7 separate regions of the Homo sapiens genome follow, and all the other regions are linked to region 3. Evidence: promoter capture Hi-C in human tissues and cell types (Jung and others, 2019). All regions are on one chromosome and are shown on one strand. The core of a region is centred on a gene start or on the middle of the fragment in contact, and the rest is flanking DNA. Distances in the headings are between cores, read along the strand shown.

Evidence for each region. The method cuts DNA at HindIII sites, captures the fragments that hold promoters and counts their contacts. A contact is called where the count stands out against the background at its distance.
Region 1: a contact is called between a fragment that was not itself captured here and the fragment with the promoter of KCNQ5 in region 3, in 1 of the 25 tissues and cell types used here (dorsolateral prefrontal cortex).
Region 2: a contact is called between a fragment that was not itself captured here and the fragment with the promoter of KCNQ5 in region 3, in 2 of the 25 tissues and cell types used here (lymphoblastoid cells and mesenchymal stem cells).
Region 4: a fragment that was not itself captured here is called in contact with the fragment with the promoter of KCNQ5 in region 3 in 2 of the 25 tissues and cell types used here (adrenal gland and dorsolateral prefrontal cortex).
Region 5: a fragment that was not itself captured here is called in contact with the fragment with the promoter of KCNQ5 in region 3 in 2 of the 25 tissues and cell types used here (dorsolateral prefrontal cortex and mesenchymal stem cells).
Region 6: a fragment that was not itself captured here is called in contact with the fragment with the promoter of KCNQ5 in region 3 in 3 of the 25 tissues and cell types used here (bladder, heart right ventricle and lymphoblastoid cells).
Region 7: a contact is called between a fragment that was not itself captured here and the fragment with the promoter of KCNQ5 in region 3, in 1 of the 25 tissues and cell types used here (dorsolateral prefrontal cortex).

Annotation. Positions count from the first base shown.
Region 1 is chr6:72,419,534-72,423,538 of GRCh38, reverse strand. No RefSeq gene overlaps it. Among named protein-coding and RNA genes, the nearest start is that of KCNQ5, 200 kb to the left of the region's middle. The HindIII fragment of the contact is 3,074 bases long and covers 784-3,857 here.
Region 2 is chr6:72,375,917-72,379,718 of GRCh38, reverse strand. All of the region lies in intron 29 of RIMS1 (regulating synaptic membrane exocytosis 1), which reads right to left. Among named protein-coding and RNA genes, the nearest start is that of KCNQ5, 240 kb to the left of the region's middle. The HindIII fragment of the contact is 9,411 bases long and covers 1-3,802 here.
Region 3 is chr6:72,620,315-72,624,372 of GRCh38, reverse strand. It overlaps KCNQ5 (potassium voltage-gated channel subfamily Q member 5), which reads right to left and starts at 2,309. Exons shown (of 14, transcript NM_019842.4): 1 at 1,786-2,309. The coding sequence starts at 2,183. KCNQ5-DT (KCNQ5 divergent transcript) reads left to right here and starts at 1,694. Exons shown (of 3, transcript NR_186827.1): 1 at 1,694-1,841. RefSeq lists silencers at 975-1,024, 2,055-2,314 and enhancers at 673-1,624, 3,735-3,924. The HindIII fragment of the contact is 7,455 bases long and covers 1-4,058 here.
Region 4 is chr6:72,459,388-72,463,502 of GRCh38, reverse strand. No RefSeq gene overlaps it. Among named protein-coding and RNA genes, the nearest start is that of KCNQ5, 160 kb to the left of the region's middle. The HindIII fragment of the contact is 3,583 bases long and covers 1-3,085 here.
Region 5 is chr6:72,439,984-72,444,074 of GRCh38, reverse strand. No RefSeq gene overlaps it. Among named protein-coding and RNA genes, the nearest start is that of KCNQ5, 180 kb to the left of the region's middle. The HindIII fragment of the contact is 3,628 bases long and covers 305-3,932 here.
Region 6 is chr6:72,803,925-72,808,181 of GRCh38, reverse strand. All of the region lies in intron 1 of KCNQ5 (potassium voltage-gated channel subfamily Q member 5), which reads right to left. Among named protein-coding and RNA genes, the nearest start is that of MIR4282, 160 kb to the left of the region's middle. The HindIII fragment of the contact is 6,866 bases long and covers 1-4,257 here.
Region 7 is chr6:72,777,523-72,781,837 of GRCh38, reverse strand. The region is part of intron 1 of KCNQ5 (potassium voltage-gated channel subfamily Q member 5); the gene reads right to left. Among named protein-coding and RNA genes, the nearest start is that of KCNQ5-IT1, 150 kb to the right of the region's middle. The HindIII fragment of the contact is 7,591 bases long and covers 1-4,315 here.

The sequences.
Region 1 (4,005 bases), core at 1,071-3,570, 200 kb after region 3:
AAAAAAGTAATGCCAACCAACAAGACTATGCCTGGCAAAGCTGTACTCAGAAATGAAGAGCTAAAGACATGCCCAGGCAGACAAATGTTGGGGAGGTCATTACCACTGGACATACCTTACAAGAAATGATAAAGGTTCTTCATGTTGGAATGAAAGCATGCTAATTAACAACATGAAGACATATGAAATTTAAAAACCCAATGGTAAAGGTAAATATATGGTCAAAATCAGAATGCTCTAATACTGTAACGGTAGTGTGTAAGTCACATATTTCTAACATAAAAGTCAAAAGACAAAGCTATTAAAAGTAATCATAACCACAATAATTTGTTAGGGGAACAATATAAAAAGATGTGAATTACGACATAAAAACATAAAATATGCAGGGGGAGCAAAAATGTAAAGGTTTTGTATGTGATCATAATTGTTATTAGCTTAAAATAATCTGTTATAACCATAAAAATAACCTGATATAACTATAAATGTTCTATGTAAGCCTCACAGGAAGAGACGTACACCAACAGCTCTTATAAACTGGCTTCAGCATGTCACACTGTTTATAACCTGCCACAATGGAGCATTCACTTAGTAGTTGAAAAAGTGATAAATTCCAGAAGAAAACTGTTTTGAGGGTTGAGAGATTTGGAATCTATGCTATTTTTTGTTCATTGAGCTCATTCCTAAAAAAAATCTAGAGAAATGAAGCAATTCTCCCTCGTAGATTTTATGGTATTCCATTAAAAACCTAGGAAGGCCTGAATAGTTTCTCAGGTTGTGAGCTGATTCCAAAGTTTTCAAGTTGAAAGCAATGAGTTTATCCAACTGAATATCCAGAAGGGAGAGCTACACCTCTGACATTGGTGCTGGATAATTTGCTGAATTAATTCTCCAGTGGGACAATTAGAGCCTTTAACATCTATCGTTAGGGAGGAACAACTCATGAAAATAGGGAATAAAATTTTCCTAGAAATTCATCTATGAAAAGGTATAATTTATAATATATATTCAGTGTTCCCAGTGAGAGCTGATCCTGGGAAAAGTGCCATGCCACTGCTGGCCTCAGTGTTCTGGCACAGCACTGTTCTGCTGGAAGAAACTGCTCTCTGCAGAAACTTTTATCTCTCTGCGCTTAGACTTCCAGAACACTCAGCCAGCCAGGAGAAGGTGTAGGCACAAGAAGCATGGATACCCTGAGGTGATGCCTGTGGGTAGAGGAGGTAATCCCTGAGCTATGTGAAACTCACCCAGGCTCCATCCCCTAACTATAATAAAAATCCAAAGTACTTGCTCTTCTCTTGACTCAAGCCATTCCAGAAGAGCTTGAATACCTGCCATATTCTCCCTAGAGTTTCATTATATGAGTAATATTCATACCCTCTGGGTGCATGTATAACACCATCAGTCCTGATACCCAAAATGATATTGAGTGGGGAATTGATCCTTCCCTAACAGGGCACCCACAGAACACTAAAAATAAGACTGTTTATGTCATCTAAAAGAGACCAGAAAACCTATGGAATTTGTACAATCACATGAGGGAGAATCCTAGGCTTTCTTATTGGCTTCCGGGTGAGGTAAAAGGGGAAGGAAGAAGCGTGGGGCCTGAAAGCTGCCAGTGATTAAACATCAAAATGAAGTCATCACATTTAGGTATTAAAATAGTCAAGTATACTTGTGCTCCAAATTTTTAATATGTAGAATATCAGGGTAGTGTGCTGGGTGATAAGGACATGGAAGTTCATTATACTATTCTATTTTCGTATGTTCGAAAATTTCTATAAGTTTTTAAAAACCCGAGTCCAGTCTTGCTATGATTTGGTTTGTCTCTGCCAAAGATCATGCTGAAATTTGATCTCCAATGTGGAAGTGTTGGGAGGTGGGGCCTAGTGGGAGGTATTTGGGTTATTGGGCAGATCTCTTATGAGTAGATTAATGGCCTCCTGTGGGGGCAAGTGAGTTCTTCCTCTTGCAGGAATGGATTATTTCCTGACAGCAGGTTGTTAAAAAGAGTCTGGCTTCCTCAGTTCCAATCTTTTCCTTCCTCCCACCATGTCATCTCTTTGCACATGCCAGCTCCCCTTCCACTTTCTGCCATGAGTTTAAGCAGCATGGGGCCCTCACCAGATGCAGCTGCCTGATCTTGAATTTTCCAGTTGTCAGAATCACGAGCTAAAGAAATCTCTTTTCTTGTAAACTCCCAAGTCTCAGGTATTCTGTTATAGCAACATAAAAAGGATGAAGATAAATCTAACATAAAAACTTCAATTTCTCATGCAAGTGAAGCTTCTCTCTTTTTGACAATATGAGCCTAATTCAAGCTCAAAACCTGTAGTAGAGATTGGACACATGATCAGATGATCAGTTTCTTTTCCATTTTCACAAATTTCTCAATTCCTCTTATCTCTGTGTTGTGTCTGAATGCTCCAGGGTTGTGTTGAAAGCTGGGAAGAGAAGGAAGGAAATGAGAAAGTTGTTATCTAGCAGTGGTTGCCCTCATGGTTGTGAGAGGTACCGAAATACTGAGTTTGGGGGCATTTACTTTTATGGTTTCATACTGACTTTCTGAATCCTTCCACTCGAGACTTGCTGCAGCCCTAATTCTTATGTGAAGTAATTCAATCTCTGATCGGCCATGTATAACCACCCCCTGCCCACCTTCATTTCCTCTAACTGGATACCTCTATTATCTTTCCACCAAAGATGCCTCACTCATGGAAGGAAGCCCTCTAGAGCAGAGCTATATCAATGTAATTCAAGACCAGTGATTTTGAATGCATCCATCAGCTCAAGGGATACCCACAATGGGAGTGATGCTTCCTCATACTGTGAGCACTCTTTATTTTCTCTGCCTTGAGGTAATCTGTGGTCTACCTCCATCCTTCCCACTTAACCAGGGGAGAGTCAGATTCTAGACCTTCTGTGGCCACACCCAGCAGTGACGTGATCAGTAAGAACTGGGAGGCCGTGGGGCCTTCAGGTTGCTGCAGCTTGCAAAAATCCCTAGGGAACGGGTAGTCAGTCTCCCCAGTCTTGGCAAGTGCCTGTTCACTTCAGAAGGGGCCCCTGAGGTGCTTTTCTTACTAAGCTTGTTGCAGGGGGCAATGTGGGGCAGCCCTCTTTTGTTACCTCAAAGGGTGATACTCCATACTCTGGAAATCTCACCAGAGAAAAATTTCAACTCTCAATCTTCCCGCAGCCAATTTCCTCTGTTTGTAAATACCCTAGATGAAGAGTGTTGGTTTAAAGGTGACCAAACTGTGTTTTGGCTTACCCCTCAGCAAGGTTTTCCTAGCTGCTCTGGCATCTCCTTTTAGACTGTGCAGATAATTAACACCCTTCCTTATCAGCTTTGGAGCCTCTGCCAAAATTCTAAAACAACAGGGAATTCACACTTAGCTCTTCTTGCATTTGGAATCATTTTAAGGCAATGTTACTCGTGACATTTCAGGAAAAAATGCAAATATATTACAAAGTGTTGTTGGTTGTTATGTAAAACCTCTTAGGAGGCAATAAAAATATATTTTGGGTGATAAACAACAAACATGATAGGTACCTAGCAATGATTGACATGGAATATTATGGGAAAAGGCTCATAATTTGCATCTAAAAATTACTAGACTCGTGATTTTAAAGACCAAGGGCCAAAGAAATGAATGGGAGTTGGGGAAAAGGTGACCTGTTACTACTCCACCTAAATTACCTAGAAAAATCTGTGTTTTGTTGAATCGTGATACAGAGCACACTGTTTTTCATACCAAATACAGAAATTGAGGCCAGAGATAAAATGATTAGAGGGGAAGATGCCAGTGCATAGCACTTAACAATGTCCAAACAGAAAATGCAGAACCAGGGAAAGGCCTGGAGTTGCTTAGTGACAAGAGATGAAACTGAGAAATGGACCCACTTGATGTCATTCTTATTTTAAAAGGCTTTTACATCAGTTTACATATAGCTCCTATCTTGTATTGATTAAGACAAATAGCATTTTATAAAATGGTTGTTTAG
Region 2 (3,802 bases), core at 1,035-3,534, 240 kb after region 3:
AGCTCATAGGGTTGAGTATTAAACGAGATAATTCATGTAAAGCACTCAGGAAAGTGCCTGGAACCTATTTAAAGTTATCTATTGTTACAGAATAAGATCTCAAAGTATTCTGCACAGATTACATCTTCAAGTAGAATAATGCCAATTCTCCTTGCTCCATTCAAAGCACATGTTCTTTCCGGGCCTCACATTTAATTCCAAATGCTATTTAGAATGCCGTAAAATTAAGCTGCAACATGTCACAGATAATTACATGTGCCCCCAATATCTATTCATTCTCACCATTTGTTTTACTGGTAAACTTCCTATCTTCTAAGTTAAGGACTGACCACATTTCCCTTCCCTCCTCTGCTCTTGAAGGCATGGGGACATGATGGTGGGAGCTAGAGCAGCTACTTTGGGTCTAGGATAGGAGAATTTGATGAAGCTGGCGAAGCCTAGTCCTCTGACATAAAGGAGTCGCCATAACAGCCCAGACTGGGATGACCACTGGGACTATTATGTAAGAGTCTTGATTAAACACTATCTGTGTGTGCCTTGTTACAGCACCCTATCGTGTACCACAGAAGATAATATTCTAAATCAAACCCAGTGTGGATTTTTGAAATAATAAAATTAGTTTTAGGAATAATAAAGAATACTCTCAGTTCTGTAGCTTCAGATAGAACATTTTAGTCCTCTACAGTTTCATGTCTGGAAGAATAAGGCTCCTCTTCTAATAAGAGAGTTAATGGAAATTTTTCTTCCCCACAAAGTCTCAGAGAATATTGGGTTAGAGGGGAAGATTCTAGCAATAAACACCGTTTATTAAATACCCTCATGGCACCCCACAGGGTACAATAAACAGAGGTGTCCTTTTCTTTTTCTTTTCTTGTCTTTTGAGACGGCGTCTCACTCTGTCGCCCAGGCTGGAGTGAAGTGGCATGATCTCGGCTCACTGCAACCTCCATCCCCCAGGTTTAAGCGATTCTTCTGCCTCAGCCTCCTGAATAGCTGGGATTATAGGCACCTGCCACCACGCCTGGCTAATTACTATTATTATTATTATTTTAGTAGAGACAGAATTTTGCCATGTTGGCCAGGCTGGTCGTGAACTCCTGACCTCAGGTGATCCACCCGCCTTGGCCTCCCAAAGTGCTGGGATTACAGGCATAAGCCACTACACCTGCCCTGAGGTGTCCTTTTCTAATAGTTTAATATTCTGAAACAAACACACATGTATGAAGTTCTTAATTATTGTGTGGAAATGACTGTACTGCACAAGTTATAGATAGAAGAGAGGGTTTTAGGTCACAAAGAAAATTAAGAAAAAGTGTTTTCTATATTCTGTAAAATGGAATAGATTCTCTGTACTTCTTACCACATTCCACAAAATAAATTAGATGGATTTTCATCAAAATTGGGGTGGTTTGATTTAGAATAGAAGCTATGCAGTATTGTGAAATTCCTGTTGGGAGACCCAGCAGGGCAACTTAAAGAGATAGGCAGCAATTCTTGAGAAAACCTGAAACAGAAGTACAATTGATCTAGGAGAGATGTGGCATATGTAATTAGTTATCACTAAAGAAGCCCCCACACTGAAAATCAAAATCACAGCATCAGGTACTCTAAATGGTAGGGTGATAAGGGATAATTGGGCAGTTTCCTGTTGGGGGACTCAATGTACCTTGAAACAACAGCAGAGCAGGTATTTATTTATTCTTGAGTGCTTATGATTTTCCCAATTCACAATGGAGAGGCAGACAGCATGTGTAAGTATACTTTTGTAAGGATGGGTGAGGTAAACACTTAGAACAACTTACACGACCATTACTGAGAAGTCAACATTAATATCGTTCATATGAAGTAGTTAAATGTTACAAGGAAAGAATAAAATAAGTTTGATGATCTCCTAAAGGCAAAGTTTGTGTAAAGAGGAATTTTGATTCCTTTACATCTTTTAGTTGTATACATTGATCATATCAGGATTGGCCATGATTTCCTAAGAACAAGATGAATATATGTCTGTATATATAAAATAAAAATTCACAAAGATGGAATCAGTGAGTTAGTTAATCAATACAGGCAGTTTATAAGAATATATTATGTTCAAGACACTATGAAAAGATAGTATCAGTTTGGCCTTCAAACCTCTGCTTGGGGCCCTACTCTGTTCTTGCTTTCAAGGGTCTTGCTCTGCCCTCTTCTTATCTTACCTCTTCACATAGCATATAGCCTTCCCTGTCCCATAGACCAAGAGGGGGCCAAGAGGATGTGCCCACCCAGAGTCCATGCCCACTCAGAGCCCATGTTCCCTTCTGAACTAACCTTCAGATCCATGGAATCCTAGAATTTCCTGCCTCAATGGCCCTGCATCCAATCCCAGAGCTAGCCCAGATGTCTTTCTAGGGTTTACTCTCCTGAGGATGGATAGTATCAGCAGTGTGCACACCCTAAATTCCAAGTGGCAGTGGACACAGCTTGAACACGTGCGCAAGGACACTCAAGGTACAGGACGGAGCCAAGGTTTGGGAACAGAAGAAGGTGGGTGACAGGTTTCAGCAGGAGGTGGGGTAAGCCAAGCCCAAGCACAGAACTCTGGAGAGCCTGAGAATTCTAAATTGAAATGTGACCTCCTTGGTCATTAAAAAGATATTTTTGTCAAGGAAGGAGACTAAAAGACCTTTTATTTGGCATTTTGTTAGTTTGGTTTATAACTTTTAAATGGCATATATGAATGTGTACTTCCATTTATTGCTCAGGGCCTCCAGTAAGCCTAGAATCTCTCAAGCGTAAAACTGTCCCATGCTTCGTAAACAATGAATCCTTTATTTTGATCCATTTGAAGGAACTATCATTAGAACAAGTCTGTTGCATAATTTTGTTTGGAGTTTTGGTCAGACTCTGAAAAACCTGTGATAAATTTCTGTGATTAAAAACCCAGGGAAATCTTATATGAGTAGCAAAATCTGATTCTCTTTTTTTTTTTTTTTGAGACAGAGTCTCTCTCTGTCACCCAGGCTGGAGTGCAATGATGTGATTTTGGCTCACTGCAACCTCTGCCTCCTGGGCTCTAGTCATCCTTCCACCTTAGTCTCCCAAGGAGCTGGGACTACAGGCATGCAACACTACGCCCAGCTAATTTTTGTATGATTTTGTAGAGACAGGGTTTCATCATGTTGCCCAGGCTGGTCTTGAGCTCCCGATATCTGCCTGCCTCGGCCTCCCCCAGTGCTGGGATTACAGGAATGAGCCACGGAGCCCAGCCCTTCTTCTTTTTTATAGAGTTTTTTTCTCTCCTTAGTTCAGAAGACTTGGGGGCCTACAAGGAAAGGAGCAGATGTGGAAGAGTAACAGCTCTTACTGGAGACTCAATTCTCACATTAACACACCGGGGACTGGGAAAATCTATAGACCCAGACAAAATATTCCTCATGGAAGTGAGGCAGGATGACAGCAGGGTAGTCAGAGGTTTAGGGTAGCAAAACTTACACTTCACAGACTAAAACAAGGGTATGCTAGCACATATTGTAATGACTGGTTTACGATCCTCACATAATTGGGTGAATATTTCTCTATACATTTTTAATAGAATGTGAAAGCATTATTTACAAAGATTTGATTTAAGAAGAGATTAAAAGAAAATTGGGGTGCTAGGGTCAGTCCCTCCAAAACTTATTGGAAATCATATAGTCTTTTTTCTAACTTCAGAATTTTCATGAAAAAGTAAATTCAGATGTACCAGAAACCATCTCTTTTCTCTTGCATTTATAAAACCAAGAGGCAAGAATGTGGTCAGAGATATTTACCACTGCTAACTTAA
Region 3 (4,058 bases), core at 1,060-3,559:
ACTGTTGTAAAGAAAAAATCATAACCTATACAGTATATATATTTGCTACCAAATTGAGCATTATAATTGCTAAATTATTTTAGTATATTCTGACAGGTCAAAATAATTTACCAGGCTTATTAAGTAATATGTTTAATTACATATCAGGTCAGAGGAGATTAACGAGAAAAGTGTCAGTTGCATTTCTCTATCATTATCCTAACCACATTTAAATAAATGTGAATTTTACATAAAAGTTATACTTTTTGATGTAATGATGATGCAACACAACCGTTCTCCTTGTGTGCATTGTAAAACGGAAAGTTGGCTGGAATATTCTGCCTAATGCTACATGTTCACGTCAATCTGGGACTGTAAAATTTTCCAGACACCAGAGCCCCACAGATTGTAGACTCCACCAATTTCCTGACTCCTATGTGGTTGAATTCCAGGTTCACCTAGTTACAAAACCAGCCCTTCTTCCATGTTATTTCAAAACACGTTTCTGGTGTTGATGCTAATTCTGCATCCCAGGAGAGAGCTATGTATGGATGACATAACTTATTTCTAAAAGAAACCTAGTCCGTGTGCTCAAAACTTATTTTACTAGGAAACAAGGAATGTATCAGCGAGTATCTGCAACTTTCTCTACTGGTCTTCTAAGGTTGATGTCTTTATATTTCATCTTAACAAAAAAGAAGCAGAAATAATAATACTAAAAAAAGAGGAAGCAAAAGGAGAAGAGGAAGAAAAAAAGAATTAGACACGAGGTAACATTATAAAAACAACCTTAAAATGCCCAGATAAACGTAACTCTAATAGGAGACTGAATGAATGGACTTTGTGGGAAAAACAGTAGTAAACTTTAAAGCCACTGAAAGGTTTTAAATGCCTAAGGGAAAAATAAACATTTGCTTCCAATCATTTTCTCATTAAGCATTCTCTGCTAGATGGAGAAGGCTTACTACACACACACACACACACACACACACACACACACACTCTTTGACTCCGCGCCACAAACGGGGACTTAACCCACTGCCCGATCTCTGTCAGAGGCGACCCATTTGCGCTTCTGCTATCGCACCTCCGCCCGCGTTCCTGCGCCCCAGGTTCCCCGCTGCCTCCCCGCCCCCTGCAGCGCGGGAGCGTTGCTTCGCCTGGCCTGCTGGCCTCCTCTAGACCTTGGCCACCTTCTCCGTGGCAGGAAGGGCTACATGCACTGACAGATTTTCCGTTGGTGGTGGCTGGGTGGTGGCGAGGCGTGTTTCCGGGCGCGCTTAAAACCTAGCAGCTCTCTCCAAGTAGCAGCTTCCCCTACTCCGCCCCTAGGACTGAGGACCTAGCCCTCGATGCCCCCTCACTTCTCCCCGTCCTACCCCGCCATCACCTCCTAACCTCTCCAGTATACTCTCAAGCCTCACACGGGCGCCTGTCCTCCCTTTGCATTCCCTAGCTCCCGGGCGCCCCGTTCGGTTGAAGTTTACGTATCTTGGGACCTAATTGCTCCCAATTATCCGCGCAGCCTAAGTCCCGCGTCTGCCTGGCTCTCGCCCCGGGAGCCTGAAGCTACCGGGCAGTTCATTGGGTGTCCTCGGGGAAAAGGTTCAAGCTGTAGAGATGAGAGAAGTGGGGCTGGGGGAGGGGAGAGGCTCCAGAAGGAAGACCACGAACACGTGCGAAGAAATAAAAGCCACCACGTGTGCACGCGCGCGGGGGCCCAAGGGCGCGAGCGCGGAGCACGCCCCAGGGGGCCAGGGACAGTGGTCCCCTGCAGCGGGCATAGCAGGGGGCGCGGGTACTCACACGAAAGCGTGGTAGATGAACGCCCAGCCGCGGGGTCTCTCCAGCACGTTGTACAGGTAGTTCTGCACCCGCCGGTACTTGACGTTGCGCCGGCAGCTCTGGCTACTCGTGTAAGAGAGCGGCTTCCCCAGCAGGCTCATCCGGGCCCCCTGCTTGCCCCGGCGGCTCTCCCTCAGGCCACCGCCGCCGCCACCGAGCGTGGCCGCGCGGGTGCCCAGCAGTAGCAGGCCGTCGCCCCTGGCGGCTGCCGAGTTCAGCAGCACCCTGCCCCGGCCGGACTCCACATCCTTCATGCCGCTGCCCAAGCGCCCCCCGCCCGCCGCCGCCGCCGCTGCGCCGCTCTTCACCCAGAGCCCGGCGGCGCCGCCCTCCTCTCCTCCCGCGTGGTGGCGGGGCATGGCATCACCACGGGCACCGCGAGGGGGCCGCCAGCGCCTGCGGCGGGGGCAGCGGCCTCATGTGCGCCGGCGGGTTTCAAGGAGGAAGCCGGCGGCCGACGGGGCGCCCGCCAGCCAGAGACCTCTGAGCCGGGGGCGGGGAAGCAGGCAGCCAGCAAACCGCCCGGGCTTCGGGGCGGGAAAGGAGGGGCTGCAGAGGAGGCCGAGGAGTCCCAATTTCTAACAGCCTTTAGCTTCGAATTCTAAATCCGGACCTGTTTGGGGCGTCACTTTGAGAGGGTTTCTCTTGCTCCCTCATTCCCGCGACTACCACTCCCTCCTTCCCAAACTGCCCCCGGGGATAGAGTGGGGGAGTGCGGGGCGCTCCGAGGCGCGCTCCCACGCGCGCACACCCAGCCCCAGGCTTCCCCTTCCCTCTCTCCACTCCCCACGCCCTGCAGCGAAACGGCCCCAGAAGCCCCTCTCCGAGGCGCGAGTTCGGTTTGGTTCTGGCAGGGGCTTTGCAGCTGTCCGGAAGGTGAAGTCAGCCTTGTGTCCTGAGGAGAAACTGGAGATGCAGGTCGCTGTGCCCTCCCGCTGCTACGTCGCTGCGCCGGATCCTGCCATCCTTCCGCAAGGGGTGAGAGCGGGAACAGCCCTGCCCTGCCTTCCAGGTATTATCTAGCCTGGAGGCTGGAGCGCAAGGTAACGCTCCGGGAAGTGGCACTCGGGTCCCCGCACACGGGCGAGTCCTCAGCAGTTCAGTGGACAGACCCGCAGGACGCGGCTGCCAAGTCCGCGAGGCAAGGACCAGGCATCTTCCCGCGCCTCACTCCAGCCTGCGGACTGTGACTTTCCATCCCAGTATCAGACAAGCTCGCGAGTAACTGAACATCCTTTCCAGTCCATGGGTGGGGTGTGGAAAGGGCGTAAAACTCCAAAGTGGCTCCTCCGCGGTGAGCGAGCTGCCCCGGGGCTCTGCCTGACTGCAGCGCGAAGCCTGGGAGAACAAACCCAGTTCCCTCCGTCAAGAAATTTCCATTTAAGTCCGAGAAAGTCATATGATTGAGAAGTTCAGCAGCGGCGGCGAGGACCCAGTGTCTGGGAAAGAACACCTGGAGGATGGGGTGTCCAGGACGCCGGCTTTTCGGGGTTCCGACCCCACCCACCTTATGTTGTAACATACAAGCTTAGAGACCTGTTGCAAGGAACAACTGACTGGGTCTTCCACCACCCCTGGCACCCGGGTGGCCCAAAGCCTATGCGCCCTTGGCGGAGAGAGAGGCCACGGTGCCACTGGCCGCAGCCTCTGGCCTTCAGAAACAGTGTATTACAAAGAAAAGGCAGTTTAAATCTCACATTCAGCATAGGGAAAACTGAAGGGTGCCAGGCTCGGGGACTTCTTCCAACAGAGTGGCTCTTCCCCAAATATGAAAGAAAATCATCAAATTAAATTGAAGGCAAAACTAAGCTTCCACCACAAAGACATAGCAGATAGTTGCAAGGTGGATTCCTTCGGGCCTTTTCCTTTCCTAAGGCTAAAACAATGCTAAGACAAAAGTCTTCTTGCAGCTGTCTCCGCCCCTCCGAGATAAATACTTTCCCAATTCTCCCCCACCCTGTACACACACCCACGCCCGCGGCAGCTGATTTCTGTCTTCTGCAATAGCTCGATTTAAATGCTTTGCTTTTACTCTTTATTATCACTATTATTTGTGTGAAGCCCTCTCGCCTGCTCCTGGTCACCAGCAGGAGCCTGCTTCCCTCCCTCCTTCCCCCCAAGCCTCTGGGCAGCAGAAGCTAGCTGGGAGCTCTGTGCAGCTGGCGGCGACGCCATGTGACTGTGAGCCGAGCACCATCACCCAGAGTCACTCTCTAGCTTTCCCCTAATACACT
Region 4 (4,115 bases), core at 45-2,544, 160 kb after region 3:
ACCGCTGTCCCTGCCCTGCCTACACTTGGGTGGTCCTTTGTGACTCCTGGGTAAAAATGATGTATAACTTTGGAGGCTAGGGTCACACAGGGCGATACTGATTTCACCTCTATTTTGGGATGCTTGCCTTTGGGATCCAGTCACTATGCTGCAAGGGAAGCCCAGGACACCTAGAGATGCCACTGACAGGTGTTCTAGCTGGAAACTCCAGCTGAGGTGCCATCAAACAGCTGTGTGTGTGAAAAATCATGTAAAATAACTCTAGCAGCCACTATCATCTGAGTGCAGCTGCTCCTGTGACCCTGGACAAGAATTGCCTAGACAAGCCCCATTTCCCTGCCAAACAATGAGAAATAATAACACATGACTGAGGTTATTTTAATTATTAAGGTTTTGAGTTGGTTTGTTAGAAAGCAATAGATAAGGAGAATACTACTCCTATAAACAGGAAAGAAGAAAGGTAGGTAAAAGCAAGTTATTATTATTCTTTAAAAGACAAAAATTAATTTGGAATCAATCAGACTCACATTCTACAGTACAAAGCAAATTGATTTCAAAGAAAATGTGAACTATTATCAAAGCTCATAAGGCTCTAGCAAAACCCATAGATAAGAGAACATATAATGGAGTGGGGGCGGGGGGTCAACAAGATTTTCTAAGCTTGAAATGGGAAATTATGTAAACTCAACATTATTGTACATACATATTTCTATTTGCTTAAAAAAATAGGCAAGATGACCTTACGCATCTTTTCCACCTCTAACTTCCACCATTCTATCTTCATCATGTGGGTGTTCAGTTTGCTGAAAAAGCCAGATTTCAGAACAGCTTTCTTTCAGAAATGATGTTTTTAAAGTTAAGGAAAAAAAGCTTGCCACACTGTAGAAGTGGCAGCTATAAAAATAGACATGAAAATAAATTGAAAATTCATAACAATTGTGCTGAAAAAGACGCACTGGGAATTGAATTACAAAGTAAAATGAATAAAGTGGGCTTTTGATTAAATGAGTGCACCAAAGTATTTACAGTATGATAATATGTTGGAAACAGCTAGAGATACTGCAGAATAAATGAAGAAAACACTATGAGTATAGTGCTAGGAAAGCACCATCTCAAAGCATAAGGCAAGGGTCAGAGAGCTGGGTTAATTCTATGCTTTAACAGAAAGAACACTCAAAATTATGCCTAGAAAATGCAGAAAAAATGGGAACACAATATGTCAAAAAAGTTTTGTACTAATAGGAGGATACTAAGGTAGAAAACCAAGGGATTTGGACCAGGTTGTGTAAGATAAAAGTACATTCCTTTCCTCTGCATGCATCCTACCCCCGCTGTCCTCAGACACATATCAACACCATACGTTTTTAAAGAGCAAAAGTGACTCCATGTTCCTCACTTACATCTGCACAGATGGCGACAATTATTCATCAGTTTCCTAACAATTTCTCTTCACTTTCTAAGTAAAGGTTGGAGACCTTAGTTGGACTGCAGTTCTAATAAGATTTAGGATTTCATTGATGTTCCTCTACTAGTAACTATTTTTGGCTAGCTTAGCATCTACTCAGTGCGGCAAAGTATACAGAGGTCTAAAGCCTATAAGCAACTTCTACATCATTAAGGAGACAGAATTAAATTAACAAAGAATAATGAGTGCTGGAAAAGTCTACACCATGTTAATGGACAGAATGCACTGGATAGGAAATTTGAAATTTGGGTGAGAAATGACAGACTGAGAGAGGAAGTCATTCTTGACAAGTGCCATGCTTTATACCTGGTACGTAGTAGGTGCTTTAGAAATATTTATTGAAAAATTAAGCAAGTAAGGCAAAACATGTGAAAAGGGGACTTAAAACTGTGTTAGGGAGTAGTCCAGCCTGGCTAGAGAAGTGAAGGCAAGGTTTAATGTCAAGGAAAAACCAGATAAAGGAGGCCTGGAAGGAAGGTGATGCGTTCATTTTCTATGGTAGAAAAATGGAAATCAATAAAACTGCCTGGTACTCAAGAGAGATTACTCTGACAGCAGAATATGATATGGATCAGAAAGAGAAACTAAGTGAGGTAGCATCAATTTCAGTTCTTTTCTGCCTTGGCAGGCTTGTTGCAAATGTTTGCACTTTGTGCTTAGCTGAGGAAAACAACCTCAAAGCAAGATGTGTGTTGTGGAGGGGAGAGTGAGGCTGCTGCAAGAATGTTAGGATGCACAGCTGGAACTGGCTTTGTGGTTACTCAATGTGGCTGGGGAATGCTGACGTGTAGGCAATTCATTTTGAACTAAGACTTCTAGAAAAATCTCATGAGAAGGCATATGAAATATAGCCTTAGAACTCAAAGGATGAACTACACTGGAGCTACTGCAGCACAGTTACAAGGAGTATACCCTCTTTACATCATGATGAGTACCAAGAACCAGGCTTTCTTGTCAGAAAAGAAAGGCAACCATATACCTATATTTACCTTAGACATGAGGAACACACCTTACTTAAAAAAATAAACAAGAAAAACCTTTGGTAGGATAATTCCTACATTAAATTTTTTGCATCTTGGTTGATTCATTAAATGTCTGTTATGGGGGATAAGAATCTATATATGTCATTTCACTGGAAATGCAGCAATGTATATTTGTAAGGATTTGAGATAGACTGCTTGGGTTTGAATCTACCACTTACTAGTCCCATGACTTTAGGCAAGCTATTTAACCTCTCTGTTCCTCCATTTCCTTATCTGAAAATGAGGTAATTCTAGAAGCTTCCATATAGGGTTATTAGGAGGATTAAATGTTATTAATTACATATGAAGTGCTTAGATTAGCATATAACTCCTAGGTGGTGATAAACAAATATCGGCTATTATTATTATATTAACTTTGTATTTTCTATGTCTTTTTCCTAAGGAAGAAACTATTACTGTCAATTTTTCTATGGTAGAAAACATAAATGGCTGATACTAAGTAACACAGTGAATTATTTGATGGCATTCAGAAAGTTCTCCCTTCTCAAACTCTTCTGGTAAAGAGAGCCATATTTTTACTTTTCTGGAACAATGCTTAAAAAATACACTTACTGAGTTGAACAAAACAGAATCATAAATATATTAGTTACATTTTGCTTTTCCTGTCTGAGAAAGCCTGAAAAATACATTTTGCTTTCCATCTGAAAGGACATCTAAAAGGAACCAGACCATACAATGACACCGAGATGTTTGTACCTGAAGTAAAATGAATCATAGCAGAAAAGGATAATGTCTGACAGGAGGCTTTAGATATTGTTTTGATTATCCAGTTATTTTCCATGTAAAAGCCACTTGTGTCTTGGAGTGGACCCTGTCATCTGAAAAGCACTTCATCTTGTTGTATTTTCAAAGATTTAAATGGAAGCTGTTGCTTTTGGGAAGCAGCCATAAGGAGAGACTTGGCTATGTTTAAAAGCTTCAATCCATTTGTCTCCTATTATCAGTGGGTCCCTCCCTTGTGTTACAGGTTTGGCTTCCTCCAGAAGCTAATACTAATCTGATAATCATGGAAATATAAAGTCTTCAAGCATTGTATGCACACAGTGTGCCAAGCATATTGTACCATCACATACAAGAATACTGACATGTAACTCTCAACAGCAACCTTGCAATGTTGGTATGATTTTTCCAAACTCACAGAAGAAGAAACAGAGCTACAGGGGTTAAGTCCCTCGTTCAAAGTCACACAGCTGTAAAGTGAAGGAATAAGAATATTATTATCTCAATTATTATCACCAGCTTCACTGGATATTGTTCAAGCCCTTTCATTTAAACTAATACAAAATTTAATATAAAACCGAACCACAGATTTCAGGGAGTCCAACCTAAACTTGGGCAACATAAAACAAGATTCAAAAGACTTGTTATATCACTACCTTTTGTGCTGCCTGGGTATCGATGAGTGTTGTGTGAATTGGTCTTAGGCATTTTTAGTTATATAGTAAATTCACTGAAAATTCAGTCTTGAGGGCGGGAGTCCCATTTTCTTTTCGTTAACGCAGCACTCCCATTGTTTTGATGCCACTGTATAATAGGTACGTTATTAATACAAAATGAAATAATCTTTCCTGTGAAAGATTCTTAGGCTGTAAGGTGAAAAGTGAAAC
Region 5 (4,091 bases), core at 869-3,368, 180 kb after region 3:
ACATCATGAAGAATGGGGTATCTATTCCCTCAAGCATTTATCCTTTGAGTTATAAACAATCCAATTACATTCTTTAGATTATTTTAAAATATGTAATTACATTATTATTTACTATGATCACTCTATTGTGCTATCAAATAGTCTTATTCAATATTTCTATTTTTGTGCCCATTAACCATCCCCACCTTCCGCCAACCCCTCACTGGCGCTTATATGGTAATCTTCAGTATTTCATCCTATCACAGCCCGTCTCCCTAGCTTTTTTCACTTCCTAACTAACTACCACTACAAATATGCTCTTCAAATGTAATATATGCTCTTCATATATTATTTGACACTTCTCCTTCCTCCTTCTTCATTATTTTCTTCTACCACACTTCTTGTTCAAACCTACAAATTGTCACTTCCATGGTCTAAAAATTATACATGACAACAGCGAGTGGATTCAATCATCATCTTTCTTTGCTATACAACAGACTCTGAGCACTACCAGAAAATGTTCTTAAAGCAAATGGATTGTTCAGAGGATGAAGGTTTTAAAACTTTTATATTTTATGTTCGACAAGATGACGCTGTGCCTTACCCTTATTCATGATCTTTTCTCAAGCCAAAAACTTTTAGCCTCTTCTTGAATCTCTGACTCTAGGAAACCACCACTTTGTTACAGGGTGATCTCTCTTAAACATAAACCCACTCGTATCCTTTCTTCGGCTTAAAATAACTAAGAACTCATTTCTACACTAATTCACCAAGTCAAAAGTCCTCAGCATTTTGTACAAGGCCCTTCATGGAGTGTCTCCTACTTACCTCCTGACATGATACATCTCCATATGCACCTCCTATTTCAGCCAAACAAGTCACTGAGAGATCTCAGGAAGCACTAGTCTCTCTCACCGTACTCTGTCTTTGCACTTCACATTTCATCGTTTTTGAATGTCATCTCTTCCATCCTGTGTGTGATGGGCTCCTCCTCACCCCCTCTATACGGTCCACGTGTAACCTACTCCGAGAAGCCTTGCTGCCTCCCTTCCACTCCCAGACCACACTTACCCTATTAGAGTTAAGTTATTTCTCTTTTCTTCCACCTAGAGCTTCCTTTATTTATTTCTCTACTCCCTCTCTAGTCCCCATCCTACAACTATGCACCCTAGAGTGGAGAATTTACATCTCAAAACCTGAAAAATAACAATTATCCCAATAATACTCAGCAAATGTTTATAGAATGAATGGACAGATGGGCTTATAATATGAAGAACAGGACATTCAGTTTAGTTAATTGGGGGCGTTGGAGACAAGTCGGGGTGCCTATTACTCAGTATGTAATATTCTGCTCTCTGGTTTGGTAATTTCACTAAAATCAATAACCTAAACTCAACAACAAAAAGTCGTAGCCTGCTTCAAAGAGAGGAACAACCTTTCCTCAAGTTTGCTATTTCAACAATAATTTAAGAAAATCATCTTTTTACTACCTGTAGGTGTCACATGGGACTAACATTGTGGTCTGTACCTTTTGCCTTCCTTCATTCCCAGTAAGGAAATAAAGGAGATATGCTGACATTTTGATAGAGTGGAAATCAATACCTATATTTCCAGCATTACCTACGGAGACAGAGAGTTTTCCAGGCTGGCAGGCTTTACTGCAACCTCTGAAGGTGTTAACATGTTAAGAGAAAGACTATGTGGACCAGAGGAAGCAGAACCTTACAGAAGCAAAGGGAAAAAGGCAGATACAAAGGAGATCGCAGGTCTGTGTTTCACAAGCACCTGGGATGTTTGTTTGAAATGTTGATGACTGGCCCCACCTCCATCCTAGTAAATCAGAATCTCTGGGAATAGAGTCCACAAATTTGAATTTTAGCAAGCTTCTTGGATCTTTTTTCAGCCCATTAACTTGTGGAAATATTAATTCAGATGTGACTTTCCCCAGAGCTGCAGGGGGAAGGGCCTCACTGTGGAGATGAGCATGTCAGACTGAGTAAACCCTGATGCCCTTTAAACTATCAGATCACAAGTCTTACTTTCCATGTTTTGATTTCATATTTACAGCATACTCTCTGACAATTTAGTTTCCATGCAGCTCAACCTACTGGAGGAAATTGTGCAGGTAAAGCTCATATGGATTTTGATCCTTTTTACGATCCTTTTTATGACGTTTTCATTGCAAATTTACCAATTATCAATGGTTGTTCCATTTAATAATGTCTCATTAGCTTTTTTCCTGTGAATTGAAACTCCAAGTCTGATCAATTAGCTAATAATTCTTGAGCTATATTGAGCTTGTGAACATGCAGGGTTGGAGATGGACCTTGGATTACCACTGTGTGTGTCTTTCTTATGGAGCATTCCTGGCCTCCTGCTGACATCTTTTCTACCCCACTTCCAACTGTCTCATCTTCCTCAAATGCTTATAATGAATTTGTAGTGGCTTTATCTGAAGAAATCAATACTCATAAAACATCTACCCATGTTGTACTATTTTATAGAGTCGGGTTAAAAAATGATGCTCCTTAATAAATTCAAAGACAGAATCTACCTTCTATCTTTCCTGTAGGGGTAAGGCCCAGCTCTGAAAGAATAATGTTTAACTAGTGGTGATTTTGCCTGGTGATTTTAACCAGGAGACATTTGACAATGTCTGGTGATACTTTTGGTCCTCACAACAGCAAGATGCTATTGGCATCTAGTGGAAGAGGCCAGGGATGCTGCTGAACATCTTAAAATGCACAAGACATCTCCCTACAAAAAAATTATTGGAATTATTGGGTACAGTGGTAGAAGAGACTCCTCTGTACCTTCTGCTCGAATTTTATACTTCTCTAAAAAGTGAAATCTATTAAAAATTATCTAGCCCCAAATGTCAATAGTACCAAGGTTGAGAAACCCTGTCCTGAAGGAAGCCATGAGAGTTCTTTACTAATTCTGAACCTACTTTCAATTTTTATGACAATGCTAGCTATTGTAAAGGAGAACAATTTTGTATACATATGCTTCCAAAGTGAGTTCAAATGTACATTTCTTTTTTTTCAAATCAGAAGATGATGCTATACTTTAGTAACATATGCTGCACAACATCACCCTCAAGATGAAGCCATTTAGCTATACCACAAATATGAGCCATGCTGAGGTGAGAATGAAATTCACTTTTAAATGAACATACTTATGCCAACAGAGGTAAACTAAATTAGAAGTATGCGATGAGAAATTTGGTCTCAGAATTTGGCTATGAGGGATGACCTACTTTGTGGGGGGTGGGGGGGCTCATTTTTGATTTCCAGAATCTGTGTGTTTCCCTCATTGCATGAGTCTTCCATACCCACACATCTTGTGGGCCATATGGTGCTCTTTTGGAATGACTTTCATTTGATTTTCTCCTTTTCAGAGATTTTTTTTTTTTAAATTTTCACTCTGTCAGAAAGCACAGAGGTCCTTGAGGAAGGGTCTTTTGTCAAAATGCTCTTCTTAGTAGTAGTGACCTTTGATGATTCCACTAGGATTCTTAGCAGAATAATATATCTTCTGAAAAAAAAAGCAAAAAACAAACAGACAAAAAAACCAGAAGTATAGCCTACTGGTGAAGCTTAGAGAAGCATTTTATATAACTTGTTTGGAGGAAGGAAGGAACCCACTCTTCATTTGGGGTTAGGACTTCATTAGTTTCCTCATGGGGAAAATTCACAGATTTCTTTTAGGCAGGGGTTGTGTGATGGGGAAAATGGGCAAGCACAGAGGTGAGTTAGGGGTTAAGGATGGGAGAATACAAACGTCACTTACTGGGGAGTTACTCACTGCAAACCTCAGGGCCATGGAAGAAAGGCACTTGACAAAATCACGTGTGACCTGAGATGTTCAGCAGTGAGGAAGATGAGAGAAAATGGCTCACTACTTCTTACAAGGACCAACCCAAATACGGGGGGACTTCAAAAAATACATGGAAAAATGGAATTAAAAGACAAAAATTGCCAACTTTATTTTTCAACATAAGCCCCATCAAGTTCGGGACACTTCTGAAAGCTATGATACCAGTCATTTAGTCCATCCTTAAAGAAATGAGAGTTGGGAATGTAGCCATGTCAATGCCATCTTTTTTTACA
Region 6 (4,257 bases), core at 572-3,071, 180 kb before region 3:
GTCCGCTTCTCTCCATTTCCTTTGCCACTAGCCCAGATAAGGCCGCCATTGACTCTCTCCTTCAATTTCTGTCCCCATCCTGCCCCTAGTGAACTCCCCATGCTGCTGCCAGTGAAACACATTTGATCACATCTGTCTCCTCCTAACTCTTCTTTGGCAAGTGAATACTGTCAGGATGAAGTCCAAGTTATTTAACACTACCTACTTTCTTCTCACTTCCCTTTCTATAACATAGCCATACTGGACTTCCAGTTACCCCAAAACCATGTACTTTTGCTCTGTAGGGATTTGCGCTTGCAGCTTCCTCTGCCTGGAACACTTTTCCACATCCTGTGTCAACCTCTTGCACAGAGCAATTGATTATTATTTATTCTTTGGGTCTAGGCCAGGTGTGGAGGCGCACACTTTAGGAGGCCTAGGTGGGAGGATTGCTTGAGGTCAGGAGTTTAAGATCAGCCTGGGCAACATATTGAGACCCTGTCTCTACAAAATATTTTTAAAAAAAATTAGCCAGGGATAGTAGTGCATGCCTTTAGTCCTAGTTACTTAGGAGGCTGAGGCAAAGGATCCCTTGAGTTCAGGGGTTTGAGGCTGCAGTGAGCTGTGATTGGATCACCACACTCCAGCCTGGGTGATGGAGCAAAACTCTGTCACTAAAACAAATAATAATGATAATAATCATCAGGACAGGAGAGATCCTGATACTAAGTAGAGAAATAATTTCTAAACAGTAAAAGATGCTGTTGATTTTAGATGATAATTAAATGTATCATTTATAATTTAATAGAATTTAACCCTCTTGAAAGTAAAGATAATTATTGCATAAATCAATCAATTACTTTTGAAATAACTATTATATTGTTATTTTCATAATAAATACTAAGTAAACATGGTGAGGTTAAAAATAAAAATTTATTGAGTATTTACAATTAACTAAGCCCTATGGTATGACTATTATACAGATTAGCAAGATGTAGCTAATAATTGAACCCAGACATGATGCTATCAAAATTCACTGTTTCAATATTATTCTCTTGAATGATTAAATAAGTCAACTAAATTGTAGGGCTTCCTGACATCAAAATAAACAAATGCATAAACACATAAATGCATAAATAAATAAATAAATGGAAGAAAACACCTTACCACAGAGATTAAAAATTCTCATTGACAAATGTCCATGAGAAATGCAACATATACATAATAAATAGTAACAGAGACAAAGGCTGCTTATAAAACTGAATGTTTATTGTTTATAGAAAGAAGTTTTTCAAACTGTAAAGCTGTTTGTCGATCTTATTCTCATATGGGAGAAAAACGAAACTGAAAATTAATAAATAAAATTTGAAAGGAAGGCTTAATGAGCTTCAGTCCAGTGGTTTACCATGCAAGGAGCAAAAACGGGTTTGGCTTGAGGAAGTAGGAATGGGAACTCAGTACTGCAGTTACAAGCCAAATCAAAATATGGGAAATGCAGAAGACACATTTAATTCCTTAATAATAGGAATATTGGGCCAACATCTTGGAGTCTTGCAATTTTCAGATAATATTTTATTTCTCAGCAGGTCATATCAAGAGAACCTCTTGAGGTTGTGTAAGTATTATGATTCTCTGCTTATTGCCTTACTTCGTCTGTTGCTATTTTTTGTCTCTTCAGGTTTGATCCTTAAGGCTTTTGTTGAACTGACCCTAAGCACTTTATGTTATCTTTTTGAAGAAATATGTCTTCTAGATTTCCCATCTTTTGATTTGGCCTATAACTTCAGTACTGGGTTCCCATTCCTACTTCCTCAAGCCAATCCCATTTTTGCATTACTTAGATGGGACTGACCCCCTCATTGGGTAGAGCTTTTGTCACTTTTTGGATTTTTGCTTGTCTTATTTCTTGTGCCAAATGGCTTTAAAAATATTGTCTGGAATGATGCCTCTATTGTCTTCTATGATTATATATATCGTTAAGAAATTAATGCTGTATGGTGAGGATCCCAATCCACCCCAGGTAAAAGAGAAAACATTCTCACAAGCTTCAGTTTCTATCTAAGCACACAGGACTTGTTTAGCATCATGAAAGACCATCAAAGAAAGAGATAAAGTCAAAATCCAAGACATTTCTGGGCTCCACTTTCTTCAGGTCTCTGTCACCAGTTGCCTCTCAGCAGATTTCGGGCACCATGAAGTAAAGTACACTATGAAGCACTTTTATATGCCAACAGCAAACAATCTGAAAAAGAAATCATGGAAGTGATCCCATTTACAACAGCTACAAATAAAATAAAACACCTAGGAATTAACCAAAGAATTGAAAGAGTTCTACGATGAAAATTATAAAACACTGATAAAGGAAATTGAAGAGGAAACAATAAAACAGAAAGATATTCCATGTCCATAGGTGGGGAATCAATACTGTTAAAATATTCATGCTACTTAAAGCAGTCTACAGATTCAGTGCAATCCCTATCAAAATACTAATTACATTCTTCACAGAAATAGAAAGAACAATTCTAAAATTTATATGGAATCACAAAAGACCCAGAATAGCTGAAGTTATTCTGGGCAAAAAGAACAAAACTGGAGGAATCACATTAGCTGGCTTCAAATTGTACCACAGAGGTATAGTAACCCAAACAGCATGGTAATGGCATAAAAACAGACACATAGATCAATGGAACAGAATAGAGAACCCAGAAACAAATCCATATATCTATATATCTACAGTGAACTCATTTTTCAATAGAAGTGCCAAGAAGATATGTTAGGGAAAGGATAGTCTCTTCAATAAATGGTGCTGGGAAGCTTCCATATGCAGAAGAATGAAAATAGACCCCTGTCTCCTGCTATATGTGAAAATCAAATCAGAATCCGTTAAACGCTTAAGTCTAAGACCCCAAACTATGAAACTACTACAAGAAAACATTGGAGAGACTCTCCAGGACATTGGAGTGGGCAAAGATTTCTTCAGTAATATCTTACAAGTACAGGCAATCAAAGCAAAAATGGACAAATGGGATCACATCAAGTTAAAAAGCTTCTGCACAGCAAGGGAAACAATCAACAAAGTGAAGAGACAACCCACAGAATGGGAGAAAATATTTTCAAACTATCCATCTGACAAGGGATTAATAATCAGAATATGTAAGAAGCTCAGACAACTCTACAGAAAAAAATCCAATAATCTGATTTTAAAACGGGCAAAAATCTGAATGGACATTTCTCAAAAGAAGACATACAAATTGCAAACAGGTATATGAAAAAGGTGTTCAAATCACTGGTTATTAGAGAAATGCAAATCAAAACTATAATGAGATATTAACTCACTCCAGTTAAAATCACTTTTATCCAAAAGACAGGCAATAGCAAATGCTGGTGAGAATGTGGAATAAAGGGAAAAACCCTTGTATACTGTTAGTGGGAATACAAATCAGTACAATCACTATGGAGAACAGTTGGAGGTTCCTCAAAAAACTACAAATAGAGCTACCATATGATTCAGCAACCCATTGCTGGTATGGACCCAAAAGAAAGGAAATCAGTATACTGAAGAGATATCTGCACTCCCATGTTTATTGCACACTATTCATAACAGCCAAGATTTGGAAGCAATCTGTGTCCATTGTCAGATGAGTGGATAAATAGAACATGGCACACTATAGAGTACTACCGGGCTATAAAGAAGAGTGAGATTCTGTCATTTGCAACAACATAGATGGAACTAGAGTCATTATGTTAAATGAAATGAGCCAGGCACATAAAGACAAGCATCACAGGTTCTCACTTATTTGTGGGATCTAAAAATCAAAACAATTGAACTTAAGGAGATAGAGAATGGAACAATGGTTATTAGAGACTAGGGAAGGGCAGTGGAGGGGTGGGGGTAGTGGGGATGGTTAATGGGTACAAACATATAGTTAGATAGAATAAATAAAACCTATTATTTGATAGCACAACAGGGTGACTACAGTCAACAGTAATTTATTGGATATTTAAAAATAATGAAAGGAGTATAATTGGATTATTTTAACACAATGAATAAATGCTTGAGGTGATGTGATTATCATGCCTTGTATGCCCTATAAATGTAGCAACCAACTATGTACTCACAAAAATTTAACATTAAAAAGTATACTGTAAAGCATTTCTCAAAAAAGTCAGAATGGTGACATGTAAGTTTATATAAATGCACAAGTTTATATCAATCTATATTTATATATTCAAGCTTATATTCAAGAGTCTATGTTTTATAATTTGCTATGCTTTATT
Region 7 (4,315 bases), core at 1,524-4,023, 160 kb before region 3:
CCAGTCTTGAATAAAAGCAGACTCTGTCAACCCCTAGGTCAGTACAAAAGTCAAGTTGAAAGCAGGCTTGAGTACTTTTATATAATACTTTTTTTCAAGCATAGAAATTGTTTTGGTTATAAAGTAGGTCTTCATGTTACTGCCAGGCTAGGGTTAAAAGATAATTCTGCTTTTGTAACCCAAAATACTTGAGTATGGGCAGCAACATCAACATGAAGATAAAACAAGATTTGCCCCAGGGAATCCAAATGAGATTAATCTATCAGGCAAATGACAGTGAAATGCAATAAAGACAAAGATGGCAGGCCCATGAGATCATCAACTATGAGTGATTTCTCCCTCAAAATCCACACAGTTATAAACATATAAGAATATATCCCTAGCTGGAAATATAACAAGAAAGGTGTATTAGTTTCCTAGGGCTGCCATAACTACCACAAAGTTGGTGGCTTAAGACAACAAATCTATTCTCTCACAATTATGGAAGCTAAAAGCCCCAAATTAAGGTGTCACCAAAGCCATGCTCCCTATGAAGACTCTAGGGACAAATTCTTCCTAGCCCCTTCCTAGCTTCTGGTGGGTCCTGGCAATCCTTGGCATTCTCTGGCTTGTGGCTGCATCATCCCAATCTCTGTCTTGGCCTTCATGTTCCTTTCTGTGTGTCCCCTCTTCTCACAAGGATACCAGTCATGGGATTTAGGGCCCACTCTCTTAGCAACCTCACTTTAACAACTAATTACATCCACAAAGACTCTATTTCCAAATAAGATCACATTCCGAGATTCTGCATAGACATGAATTTGGGTAGGGACACTATTTGAATGATTATTAGTGTCAGAAGATTTATGTTTAGATATAAACAAGAAAACTATGAAAAATAAGAAAACAGTGGAAAGAACACTGGCCTCAGAGCTAGAAACCTGGGGCTCATTCTTTCTTTTCTATGATTAAATTGCTGAATCTAAGAAAATCACTTACATAGTGCCTGATCCAGAGTAAGTGACAGCTTATAATTATTATAATTATTGATCTCCCTATTCTATATTCCACCCTGCCTGTTACCAACATGATCATGTTTGCAAAACTCAAATCTAATATCATTATTTAAAACCTTACATGTTATCCAGTTGATTACCAGATAAAGTTCTCAGTAGATAAAATACCCCTTATTATCTGATCTCATATCTCCCCCCAAGTCTTCCACTCCTCACCCAACAGTCACTCTATGTCCCAGATGCATTGAGCAAAACTGGGTTGCCTTCTCACACCTCCTTGTCCTTGCTCATACAGTCCCCAAGTCTGGGATGCTCCAGACTCCTTGTCCACCTGGTGAATATAAACTCAGACCTAGTCAGTGCTCAGATGCCAGCCCCCTGAGGCTTCCCTGAAGCTTTCATCAGAATGATGGGCTCCTGTTCTCTGCTCTTGGAGCATATCAATACCTCACATTTGCTTGTGATTATTTATTGGCATATCTTCTCTTGTGCATTAGGAGTTTTCTCAGGCTAAGCAAAATGTCTTATCAATTCTTAAAGCTCCAACTCCTTGGGAGGAAGTATAACATATGGAAAATAACATATGGCTTGGAGTCGGACAGGCCTCTGTTCTGCCTTTTTACCAGCTGTGCAAACTTGGAGAAGTTACTTAACCTGTAAATTGGGGTAATAAATGTACCTACCTACTGTGGTTTGTGGTAATGTTTGCAATGCATAATGCCAAGAACATAGTAAAGAATACTTAATAAATGCCTTTAACTAAATAGTGGTAGTTGAGTACAACTGAAAAATTATGCAAGACTATAGATTGTTGCTGATCCCAATTAAGAATCTCCCACTCATGGCTCAGCATGGTGGCTCATGCCTGTAATCCCAGCACTTTGGGATGCCCAGCTGGGAGGACAGCTTGAAACTAGGAGTTTGAGACCAGCCTGGGCAATAGAGGGAGACCCCATCTTTACACACACACACACACACACACACACACACACACACACACACACACACACACACACACACAGAAAATTAAATTAGCTGGGCATGGTGACTCGTGCCTGTGGTCCCAGCTACTAGGGAAGCTGAGGTGGTAGTATCCCTTGAGCCTGGGAGGTCCAAGCTGTAGTGAGCCATTCTTGTGCCACTGCACTCCAGCCTGGGTAACAGAATCACACCTCGTCTGAAAACAAAAAACAAAATGCCAAAAGAACCCTCCCGCTTAGTTTAATCTTCTTATTTTTTTCCTCGGTAATTCCTTTGCCTACTCTCCTCAGTCTTCATCCAAATACTCACTGCTCTCCTAGAACTCCACCTAACCTTATTCTCAGCAGATTACCTTACCTCTTACTAGGAAAAAAAAATGAATAAGTAAATAAATAACAGTCAAGTATGAACTCTTTCAACTCCCTTCTGTCCCACCACTCTCTCTGAGAGACATACACACATTCTCACAAACTTGTCTACATATTCATTTATGATGGCTTGCTTCCTTCCTTTCTGGGCCTGAAAAAGAAATATCCCTATCATCCTTTGACTGTTGAATGCCAGCCCCCATTCTGTGTGCCTATGACCCTGGCCTGGGCCTCTCCTTCTTCCTCCAGGACTCTGCCTCATAATGCCCTCTCTTGTCAACACCAGCTTTCTAGGGGGGCATCCTTCCCTGTAGCCTACAAATATACTAAGCATCTCATCCCAAATCAAACAGACAAGATCAAGAGTCTCCCACGGCTCTGCTCCTAAACTTTTTCTTGCCTTTCTCCTTCCAATTTCATCCACACTTTCAAAGAACAGTGTGGAAAAGCAGTCTCAACTTCTTCACTCACATACTCCTCAATCCACCTTACTGCAACTAAAGACAAGCACTACAGTGAAATCACTTCACTAAAGTTACCTTTGTCCTCTTCATTACCAAATTTAATGAATATCTTTACAAAAGCTATTTATAGTGGCACCTCTTCTATATTCAATACAATTGATCACTTTGTTTTGAAAACTATTTGAACTTCTGTGCTCTGGGATACAACTCTCTTCTAGTTTCTCTGATACATTTCTGACTGTGCTGTTGATTTTTTTAAAATTTTTTTCTCCAGTTTTATTGAGGTTGAATTGACAAATATAAATTGTATTTATTTACACTGCACAACATGATGTTTTCGTATACATACACATTGTGAAATTATTACCACAATCAAGCTAATTAACATATCTATCATCTCACATAGTTACCTTTTTTTTTGTGGTGGGAATATTTAAAATCTATTCTTTTAGCAGTTTTCAAGTATACAGTATATTCTTTTTTTTTTTTCTGTGACAGGGTCTTGCTGTGTCTCCCAGGCTGGAGTGCAGTGGCGTGATCTCTGCTCATTGCAGTCCCCTCCTCTGGGGGTCAAGCGACCCCCACCACCTCAGCTTCCCGAGTAGCTGGAACCACAGGTAAGTGCCACCATGCCCGGCTAATTTTTATATTTTTTGGTAGAGATGGGGTTTTGTCAGGTTACCCAGGCAGGTCTCAAACTCCTGAGCTCAAGTGATCTGCCTGTCTCCACTTCCCAAAGTACTGGGATTAGAGGCGTGAGCCACTGCGCCTGGCCTGTATACAGTACATGCTTATGTTACTGTAGTCATCATATTATGCAATAGATTTCTAAAACCTATAAATTCTTCATTGAATTTTCTACTAGAGAGCTGTACTTCAAGTGCTGGTGACCCTGTGACCTTCATCTTTGGCCTGACATTCTTCCCACTTTTCCACTTATGCTAGAGACTCTCCTTGAAAAATGGCATCCACGTTCATGTTTTTCTCTTACCGTGACCTTTGACTTTCAAATTGCATGCCTTCCTTGAGTTTCAGAGTTGATTATCCTACTGCCAACTGATTTTCTCTAACTGAATATTCTACAGGCATTTGAAGTTTAGCTTTTTTAACGGTGAACTGATTATATTTTCTCTTGATCCTCTTCATACATTCTCTTTTATAGGCAGCACAATCACCCACAGTCAAGGCCTAATGGAGGGTGTGTCGGGGCAGAGATTCAAGATGATGGCCTCTATGGGGTATACCTGAAATTTAGGGCAGGCTCTGTAGCCTAGGAGTAAAGACAAAAGCCTTGGAAGCAAATTATCTTGGCTCTTCAAAGAATCACCTCTGTGGTTCCTCTTGATTATATGTGTGTAGGGCAAGAAGGTACCTTTTGACCTAGGATAAGACCAAAAGGATATGAGTTTTGTTGTTGTTGTTTAAATGCTTATCGAAAACTGTTTCACTTGCTGATATTCAGAGCTGCTTCCTAGGGTGGAGGTGGAAAAATGTGTAAACGTAGCTC